3 separate regions of the Homo sapiens genome follow, and regions 1 and 2 are each linked to region 3. The links are contacts of gene promoters, found by promoter capture Hi-C in blood cells and fetal thymus (Javierre and others, 2016). All regions are on one chromosome and are shown on one strand. The core of a region is centred on a gene start or on the middle of the fragment in contact, and the rest is flanking DNA. Distances in the headings are between cores, read along the strand shown. Region 1 holds the start of ZNF417 (zinc finger protein 417). Region 2 holds the start of ZNF135 (zinc finger protein 135). Region 3 holds the start of ZNF543 (zinc finger protein 543).

Region 1 (3,461 bases), core at 962-3,461, 600 kb before region 3:
AGTCTTTGAAGAGGAACCTGTACTTTACTTTTTACAGACTGTAGCCATCACTACTACCAAGATACCATTTATTTTATTGTTTTTTGTTTCTTTGTTTGAGAGAGTCTCGCTCTGTCGCCAGGCTGCAGTGCAATGGCGCGATCTCAGCTCACAGCAACCTCTGCCTCCCGGGTTCAAGTGATTCTCCTGCCTTAGCCTCCCGAGTAGCTGGGACTACAGGCGTGTGCCACCACACCCGGCTAATTTTTTTTTTGTATTTTTAGTAGAGACGGGGTTTCACCATGTTAGCCAGGATGGTCTCGATCTCCTGAACTGGTGATCCGCCTGCCTCGGCCTCCCAAAGTGCGAGGATTACAGGCGTGAGCCACCGTGCCCAGCCTTATTGTTCTTTATAAGACTGATGTCAAATTACTAAAAGGAGTTGAATGTAAGTTAGAATATCAAGTAAAGGATACTAAGTGGGAAAAAGTGTTGTTCAATTAATTGAACGCTATAATGATTTGTGAACCCCCCAAATTTGAGACAGGTCTCAGTTAATTTAAATAGTTTATTTTGCTGGCCAGGTGTGGTGACTCATGCCTGTAACCCCAACACATTGGAGGGTGAGGCAGGCAGATCACGAGGGAGATCGAGACCATCCTAAACAAGGTGAAACCCCCGTCTGTACTGAAACTACAAAAATTGGCGTGATGCCACGTGCCTGTACTCCCAGCTACTCGGGAGGCTAAGGCAGGAGAATCACTTGAACCCGAGAGGCAGAGGTTGCAGTGAGCCGAGATCGCGCCACTGCACTCGAGCCTGACCAAAGAGCGAGACTCCGTCTCATAAAAGAAAAAGTTTATTTTGCCAAGGTTGAGGACACATGCCCGTGACACAGCCTCAGGAAGTCCTGACGACATGTGCCCATGGTGGTTGGGGTACAGGTTGGTTTTATACATTTTAGGGGGACATGAGACATCAGTGAATATATGTAAGAAGTACATTGGTTCCGACCAGAAAGGCGGGAACAACTCGAAGCAGGGAGGGGACTTCCAGGTCACAGGTAGACAGGTAGAGAGACAAATAGTTGGATTCTTTTTAATTTCTGATAAGTCCTTCCAAAGGAGGCAATCAGAATAGGCATCTATCTCAGTGAGGAGAGGGAAGACTTTGAATAGAATGGGAGGCAAGTTTGCCCTGAGCAGTTCCCAGATTGACTTTTCCCTTTAGCTTAGTAATTTTGAGGCCACAAGATTTTCCTTTCACAGATTCTATCAGCAGGAGAGTTGTTTTCTGTAGGAATCACAGAGATTCAGCTTTGCACTCCTGCTATAGGGGAGCACATCCCTAACTTCCTTCATTTGCCTTAGGCACTCTAAGGCTTCTGAGGGCCTTCAGACACATTATAACACAACAACGCTTATCAGCCTCTGCTTCCAGTGCAGGTATTTTGCGACTGAACGACTGTTTCAAACGGTGTGGTAATTTGGATTTTTAGCCTTTAGGAGAATCCTAAATAATAGTTTTAGCTTGAGCTCCCTATTATTTACCTTGCGCTCCCCGAAATCTGAAACAGTATTTTTCCAGATTCTTGAGTGATTAGTTACAGACACTAGTCTCCAGGAATCTCAATACGGCTTCTAAGGCTAGGTGAGACCCCTCCTCTGCCCTAGAAAGGCGCCTTTTTTTTTTTTTTTTTTTTTTTTTTTTTTTTTTTTTTTGAGACAGAGTCTTGCTCTGTCGCGCAGGCTGGAGGGCAGTGGCGCGATCCCAGCTCACTGCAAGCTCTGCCTCCCAGGTTCACGCCATTCTCCTCCAGCCTCAGCCTCCAGAGTAGCTGTGACTGTAGGCGCCCGCCACCACACCCAGCTAACTTTTTTTTTTTTTGAATTTTTAGTAGACACGGGGTTTCACCGTGTTAGCCAGGATGGTCTCCATCTCCTGACCTCGTGATCCGCCCACCTCCGCCTTCCAAAGTGCTGAGATTACAGGCTTGAGCCACTGCGCCCGGCCAGAAGGGTGCGCTTTTTAAGGAGAACCCCTGACCTGATGGCGGGCTTTTCCTGCAGATGGACTCTGGGTATCGCTCTTTTTAGCGCCATGGAAAGTGGGGAACTACATTACCCAGAAAGCTCTGCGTTAAACGACAGCCGGTCAGAGCCAATGAGCACTCGGAAAGAAGGCATTTCCACGTGTGCACGTAACGTAAGGCTGAGACTTCCGGGGTCTCTAGTAGCGGCTGTGTATCGGTGACGCGGGTGTTTCCCCAGTTTGTGGCCCCTGAGTGCTGGGGGGGGACCGCGGTGACTGAACCTAGAAGGTGGAGAGGAATCGTCCTCGGTGCCCAGAGGCGGCTCTGCAGCCCCGTGACGGCGACCACTGCTCCCGGGCCGTGCTTCCCCAAGTAGTCCGATGGCAGCGGCTGCGCCGAGGCGCCCGACTCAGGTAATTGTGGCGCCTTCTGTGCCCTCAGGTCACCCCATCGTCACCCAGGTCCTAAACCAGCGAGGGAGCGGCTCCTGCTCACGGGTCTGTAGCCGGTACCCGGCGTAGGAACACTGAGGCGCTCGCAGGAGGGGTCCCTGTGTAACTGTCCAGTGGGGGTCCCTGTGTAACTGTCCAGTGGGTTCACCTTGCCAGCTGCCTAGACAGAGCCGATTTATGAAGACTGGAGAATTGCGATGGAGAAATAGTAATTGACGCAGAGCCGTCAGGCTGTTCTGGAGACAGGAGTTTTATTATTACTCAAATCAGTCTCCATTAGCATTCCGGGATCAGAGTTTTCAACATTAATTTGGCGGTAAGGGTTGGGACCTGAGATGGATTCATAGAGGGTTAAAGTGAGTTTTTCATGCTGTTTTCTGTTCTGGGTGGGATGGCAGAACTGATTGACCCAGATTACCGGTCTGTGTGTTGTCAGCTGATCCATCCAGTGCAGGATCTGCAAAATACCTCAAGCACTGATCTTAGGTTTTACAATAGTGATTTATCTTCAGGAGCAACTTGGGGAGGTTCAGACTCTTGGAGTCAGAAGCTGCATGACCCCTAAACGGTAATTTCTAACCTTGTAGCTAATTCGTTAGTCCTGCAAAGGCAGGCTGTTCTCCAGGCAAGAAGGGGGTCTTTTCAGGAAAGGGCTATTATCAATTTTGTTTCAGAGTGAAACCATGAACTGAATTCCTTCCCTAAGTTAATTCAGCCTATACCCAGGAATGAACAAGGACAGCTGAAAGGTTGGAAGCAAGACGGAGTCAGTAAGGTCTGATTTCTTTCACTGTCATAATTTCCTCAGTTATAATTTTGCAAAGACGGTTTCACCTGTTTCTGACACCCGTGGGATGCGGTGGGGAGAGCAACAAGCACAGGGAGGGGCGCAGGCAATGGCCTGGAGATGGACGGAGCCGGGAGGATGGAACCTGTCTGGAACAAAGTGTGAGGTGGAGCTCTCCCTGGAAGAGTAAGCAGGCCGAGGGCTGTGCATT
Region 2 (3,451 bases), core at 314-2,813, 740 kb before region 3:
AAATCTGGGTTTGTTTTTTAATTTTTTAGAGACAGGGTTCCACTGTCATTCAGGCTGGAGTGCAGTGGCACATCATGGCTCACTGCAGCCTCCAACTCCTGGGCTCAAGCAATCCTCCCCCATAGCTGGGATTACAGCTACAAGCCATCGCACCAGTCCCCTTGTACGGGTTTTCTGACATTCCTACAGGAGGCTGGTTTCTTCTGGTGGCTTATGGGTGGGGTTAATGTCATCATAAAAAGGCGAGTTCCGCCCCCTTGGCCTCCATGACGTCTGAGGAAGCGGCACTCGATGCGCCATCTTGGAGCGCAGAGCATGCTAAGGCCTTCAACTTCAGACTGCAGAGCCGGGGCACCTACAATTTTCTGACATCACCCAGCCTCAGGTATGCAATGACGGCCGCACAAACATAAAGCCCACTCAGACAGGGACCCGTGCCCGCTGACCTCCAGCGCGGCGTGGGCGGTCCTTTCAGAGGCAGGCTGTGGTTGGGGAGCTTGGCGCGGACTTTAGGAGGCCGGGTGTGCAGGTAGAGGCCGGACACGAGTAGAGGCTAGATGTGCAAATAGAGGCCGGGCACGAGTAGAGGCCGGGCACCAGTAGAGGCCAGGTGCGCGAGTAGAGGCCAGTTGTGCGAGTAGAGGCCGGGCACGAGTAGGGGCCGGGCACGCAAGTAGGGGCCGGGCACAAGGAGGAGGCTGAGCGCGAGTAGGGACGGGGTGCAAAGAGGAGGCCGGGCGTGAGAAGGCCGCGCGCGAGGAGGCCGGGCACGAGGTGGAGGACACGCGCAAGGAGGCCGAGATTCTCACCGGGTCTGTGGAGACGCGCACCCCAGGGGTCATGCCCTGGCTTCTGGCAGGAACGGCTGGCCCTGCTCTGTGGGAAAGGGGAGGTGAGCAGCTGGGGCAGGCAGAGGCGGTGCTCAGGTCCCCAAGCCGGGGAACTGCGCCAGAGCCTGGGGAGCTCCGCGGAGAGCCGTCCAGGGCCCCGCGTACCCGTTTAAGCGCCTGCTGTGTGTGGGGCGGCCCTCCGCTCGGAGAAGGGCAGCCTAGGGTTTTCCCGCCTGTCTGAGGGAAGCTGAAGGCCTGGCGGGTGCGGACACATATCTGCTGCGCAGACTCTGAGCCTTAACGCTACAGTGACAAGGGCCGGGTGGTTGCGGTCCCCTGGCCCTGGGCACTATGCCTCAGTTTCTCTCTTCCATCAACAAAGGTGGCGGCCCAGTGCCCGGTGTGGGGCAGAGGTGGGGCCAGGGGCGGGGCGCGCGTTCCCTCAGGGGCCGTCGGAGCAGCTCCTGTCCAGCTGGGCGTTGGGCCCCGCCCTCCTCTCAGACTAGGGATGCCCCGCAAAGCCTGCCCCCGCCAGCCCCGAAACGGCCTTCCCCAGGCCCCGGGCAGCAAAACGGACTCCACACAGACGCGCGCTGCTGGAAACTCGCCCCGCCAGGGCCTCAGGAAGATCCCCGGACCCCCCGCACCCGGCCCGGCCCGGCCCGGCCTGGCCTCCCCTCCCCCTCCTCGCCGGCCTAGCTCACCCTCCTGACTGCGAGACAAAGGCCGCGGCACCGGCAGCCGACACTGCGCCGGCGCGAGCCTAACTCCATTTCCCAGAGAGCCGCGCGCGCATTTCCGGCCGCCCTCCCCCACCTCGCTCTCGCCCTTGGCGTTCGTGAGCTCTCAGTGCTGCTGGAGCTGGAGTGACTGGGCCTGGTGAAACAGGGCGCGCGGGGTGCCTGGGCATCAACGCGGGATAAGTGCCGCTTGGAACGCCGTGAGCTCCCGGCGCGACCACACGGGCTTTCGTGTTGGAAACTCTACCGTCAGTTTTACTGCTGCAAACAAAGCAATGATTTTTTCAAAACACATACTTTCAACCAAAACATTCACCAAGATCGCACACACGGGAGTCTTTGCATTTTCCACACTGAGGCAGCCATGGAGACTTCACACTGTATTTATTACATGGTTATAAGGAACATCACGTGCAAGACACTAACAATTATGACGACTTTGGACATTGCTAGGTAATTGTCAAAATTGTGCATTTGAACAGCAGCAAAATATTCAAAGCTGGTGTGCCCTCGCTGACACGAAATGAATTGTCATTTTCTGAACATTCACCAAAGCCTGCCAGGCGCTAGGCCTAGGTTCAGCAGCACACAATAGTGAAGCCCCCATTCAAGCGGGCTTCGTTTCACCAGCGTACGTCACACGTCCGTGGAGCAGCGAGACCAGAGGAGCTGGGAAAGCCAGGGCTGAGCCTTGTGCTTTTGCCCTTTTAAGGGAGGACAGATTAATTCCAATCAGCCTGGGCTTGGGAGCTGTATTTGAAGCAGAGGAAAAGTTTTAAGACGGGCATTTTTTTTTCTTTGACTGAAACAACTCTGAAAACAGCAGAGAACACAATACGAATTCTCGTACCACACACAGACACTTGCAAAGATTTGGCTGGTTAACACACAAGTTAAGACTTTAAATTTCATAAGCCCTAAAACAGTGGCAATTATGAAGAGATATAATGGCTCAAAATCATAATGCACTGATGTAAACAAAGCAAAGGCAAGCTTCTTGGCTTTTAAGGGCGTCCTGTACATTCCAAGTACTGTAAAGCCCCACATTTGTGACCGTCGCACTGAAAGCCAGCCTGCTTTTCACTCTACAGCAGTAAAGAGGCTTTCCATTATACATAAAATGCCGTTTTTCAGTTCTCGAACTCACAAACCCAAATGCCACAAAACATCTTTTTGTGTATTTTTTCTTTCACAAAATGTATACTCTTGCCCCCCACCCCCACCCCCAACCGTTTCCTTTTACTGGATCAAAAGGTATGAACACACAACTCATGGTGAAGTCTTTTTCCCAAGCGGTCTGATAGTCCTGGTGAGAAGCTGTCAGTGGTGCCACACTGAGCCTGCTCAGCCCTGATGGTGGCCAGGCGGCCCTGCCCAGCTCCCTCAAACTTGCCCCTCTGTTTCCTCCCTCAGACCTTCTGATCCTCTGTTTTTCTCAGCCAGGTTTCTAAACCGTACATGCTTTTGCAGGGGCGGGCTCTTTCTACAGGGGCAAGTGCTGCTTGGCTCCAGCCAAGTGGGGTCGTGCGGACTGGCAAGCCCAGCGTCCCAGGTCTGGATTTCTCTAAAGAACCCAGAGATCAGGATTTCTATGTGAAATCTCTTGATTTTTAAAAGCTGGTAGGGATTTCAAAGGCTTTAATAACACTCTACCAGTCAAATAAGATGAGCTGGAGGCTACTCCAGTGCCACCCTTGCTGTGGTCTGAACCTCCTGCTGTCTCTTGTAACCACTGGCTGGGCCCCTCTCAGCTCCTTCTTGGCTTCCTGTACGAATCTCCAAGCAGAGCATTGCTGGTTGCCTCTCTGTGGCCTGGAACAGGACCCCCCACCATGAGCAGGTGGGCTGCACATCAGTACAGCTTCCAAGCAATCCTGCAAT
Region 3 (3,268 bases), core at 224-2,723:
ACACGGGTCCCCTGCGGACTCCTTAAACAACCAATAAACCATTTTTTTTTAGTCCACACAGTTCCACCAGCATGAAATGCCATGACTCCTCATGTCCAAGACCACCTGCTAGAAGGAAGCCTGCTCAACTTGCAAAGTTTACTTTAGGTGTCACCCCCAGGCCTCCCTAACCATTGCGGGCAAAGAAGAGGGTAAAAACACAGGCTGTGATGGTAGACACACCAGTTGTTAGTTTCTGATACTTAAGAGCTACAGTGATGTAAGGCAGGTAATTGAACCTATGTGAGCCTCCAGCTGCTCTTGTGTAAAACAGTGAGGACAAGAGAACCTAATTCTAAGGAGTTCAGGATTAAAGGAGCTGAGGGTTAAATAATGCCTGCCAATCAGCCCACAGCAAGGACTCTTTATGATCAGCTGTCACTCTTTGCAATTATTTCGTTTCTCTTTGTTCACATAACATCCTAGACCAACTCAAACGGCAAGCTTCTTTAATATCGTCAGATTCTCTATACAAAAATGCCACACATTGCCAAAAATGGGCAAGTGCGTAAGGCGCCACTTTAGCCGGAATTGCCAAGAAAGCCACCTCCAAATAGGTGACATCTGGACAGAGGCCAGAAAGATATGAGAGGGAGGCCCTGCGAAGTTATAGGGGCAGTGTTCAAGGCAAAGGGAAGTGCAAAGAGAAAGCCTGGAAAAAGGAAGAAGACTGCACGGTCAGGTTGGTGGCTCTGAAGAGCAAAGGACAAGGGAAAAATGGAGAGACAAGGTCAGGGGTGGTTGGCCAGGTGGATGGGGTAGGGGCTGGCAGGCAACAGAGGAGGTTGGATTTAAGGGAAGTGTGATGAGATCCATGAAGGAAGCATCATTCATCCTTCTACCAAGGACTGAGCACCTGTCGGAGGCCAACACTATTGCAGGACTGCGGATAAAGGAAATGACAAGCTACGGCCACTTCTCTTAAATAAACGACGGCGACAAAGAAACATCCTGTGGCTGTCTTGGCTTCTGCCTGCCCACGAGGCCTCCAGAAGTAGCAGAGCAGCAGCAAGGCCAAAACCTCGTCCACTCACCTGCGCCGAGGCTGCCATCCTGAGACCCTGCAGCCCTAGCGGGGCCCGGGAATGCCGCGGCTCAGCCGACCCCCAGCCCTTCTCTGTCCTGGGCGGGGCGACCTCGGCTGACTTTCGCACTCGGAGCCTCAGTTTCCCCAGAGAAAAATGCGCACAAAGCGGGCGCAGCGTCGGGGCTGAGGAGACGGAGGGCGGCTGCGGAGGCCTAGGCCTCGGCAGGCGCCGGTGGAACACCCCGTTAGGGAAGAAGCGGGGCGTCAGGCTCCCGCCAAGATGCGGAGAAGGCGCGTAACAGCCTCATTACCCTCCCCTGCTCAGGCCGCTGGACGCGCCTACCCAGCGGTCCAGGCCCCACACTGTTCCAGGGCCAATCCTGCTCACGGAGATGACGTCACGCGACGAAGCGGAAGTCCCACCTCCGCCGCCCTGGCCCGCAGAAATCGCCCGTGTCCTGGCCCGTCATTGGCCTAGAGTCCGCGGCCGACGCAAGGGGTGGTGCCTTCTGAGTAAGGCAGTTTTTCCCTCACATCTACCGGGTGTGGGAACTCACCAAGCGCAGCCGACTCCATTTAAGTGCGCACAAGGACCCCCGCGTCGTCTTAGGGCCGCCGCTTTACTATGGGCACAAGTCGGAGGGTCGAAAGGTCCTTTCTAGCTTAGGAAAATTGAGGTCAGGAGGCGGGGATATTCGCCCCGATTGAGATCATGGGCTGGGCCCAGAGCTTCTGGCTCACTTCCCTTATTTTAGGGAGGTAGCTCATATATGTAATCTCAGTGCTTTGGGATGCCAACACAAAATAATTGCTGAGGTCAGGAGTTTGAGACCACCCTGGGCAATATAGTAAGATGTTATATCTACCAAAAAAAAAAAAAAGAGCAAGGCATGATGGTGTACACCTGTAGTCCTAGACACTGGGAGGCTGAAGCAAGAGGATTGCTTGAGCCCAGGAATTTGAGGTTATAATGAGATATGATGAGAGAAAACACACACACATAAACACACTGAGATGCCATCTTATACTGGTCAGAGTGGCTATTATTAAAAAGTAAAAAACCAACAGATGTTGGTATGGATGCAAGGAAAAGGGAACGCTTATATGCTATTGGTGGGAATGTAAATTAGTACAACCTCTATGGAAAACAGTATGGAGATTTATCAAAGAACTGAAAATAGAACTGCCATTTGATCTGGCAATTCCACTATTGGGTATTTACTTAAAGGAAAATAAACCACTATATCAAAAAGATGCCTGTACTTACATGCTTACTGTAGCACTATTCACAGTAGCAAAGTCATAGAATCAACCTAAGTGTCCATCGACAGATGATTGGATAAAGAAAATGCGATATATATATGTATATATATGTATGTATATGTATATATGTATATATATGTATGTATATGTATATATGTATGTATATGTATATATATGTATATATGTATGTATATGTATATATATGTATATATGTATGTATATGTATATATATGTGTATATATGTATGTATATGTATATATATGTATATATATGTATGTATATGTATATATATGTATGTATATGTATATATATGTATATATATGTATGTATATGTATATATATGTATATATATGTATGTATATGTATATATGTATATATGTATGTATATGTATATATATGTATATATATGTATGTATATGTATATATGTGTATATATATATACACTCCATGGAATACTACTCAGTCATTAAAAAAAATCATGGCTTTTGCAGCAATATGGCTGGAACTGGGGGGCCATTCTCTTAAGTGAAATAATTCAGAAACAAAGTCAAATACTGCATGTTATCACTTATAAGTGGTAGCTAAATGATGTATACATATGGAAATAGTGGAATAATAGACACTGGAGATTCAAAAAGGTGGGAGGCATTGCCGGGGACCCCTCACACCATGGTGCTTCACTCACCTACACCACAGCCATGCCACCCCATTGGCACACACTTGCAGGTAGCCCCCCTCTACTGCCCAAGTGGTGCACACTTGCCTGTGGCCTCCCCATCCCCCAGCCACAGTGCACTCTCTGCAGTCCCCACAATGCTCTGCTGGAGCACTTTTGCCAGCAGACTGAGAACACCTCAGCCCCTCTAGCACAGCAGGTGCTTCACCCCAAGCAGCCAGAGAACAAAGCCAAGGGCTTAATCCCCTCTACCCAGGTTTACA

What was found. The method cuts DNA at HindIII sites, captures the fragments that hold promoters and counts their contacts. A CHiCAGO score of 5 or more calls a contact.
Region 1: the fragment with the promoter of ZNF417 here is called in contact with the fragment with the promoter of ZNF543 in region 3 in 5 of 17 cell types (fetal thymus, total CD4 T cells, naive CD8 T cells and 2 more); the score reaches 8.2 in fetal thymus.
Region 2: the fragment with the promoter of ZNF135 here is called in contact with the fragment with the promoter of ZNF543 in region 3 in 4 of 17 cell types (neutrophils, total CD4 T cells, naive CD8 T cells and 1 more); the score reaches 7.5 in neutrophils.

Annotation. Positions count from the first base shown.
Region 1 is chr19:57,915,342-57,918,802 of GRCh38, reverse strand. ZNF417 (zinc finger protein 417) reads left to right here and starts at 2,211. Exons shown (of 3, transcript NM_152475.3): 1 at 2,211-2,424. The coding sequence starts at 2,392. RefSeq lists enhancers at 1,835-1,894, 1,291-2,146, 2,165-2,454. The HindIII fragment of the contact is 13,199 bases long and covers 1-3,461 here.
Region 2 is chr19:58,057,394-58,060,844 of GRCh38, reverse strand. ZNF135 (zinc finger protein 135) reads right to left here and starts at 1,563. Exons shown (of 5, transcript NM_001289401.2): 1 at 1,535-1,563; 2 at 810-876. The coding sequence starts at 842. The HindIII fragment of the contact is 3,956 bases long and covers 1-2,565 here.
Region 3 is chr19:57,318,677-57,321,944 of GRCh38, reverse strand. ZNF543 (zinc finger protein 543) reads right to left here and starts at 1,473. Exons shown (of 4, transcript NM_213598.4): 1 at 1,074-1,473. The coding sequence starts at 1,091. RefSeq lists enhancers at 1,375-1,524, 1,535-1,654, 2,580-3,097. The HindIII fragment of the contact is 3,609 bases long and covers 486-3,268 here.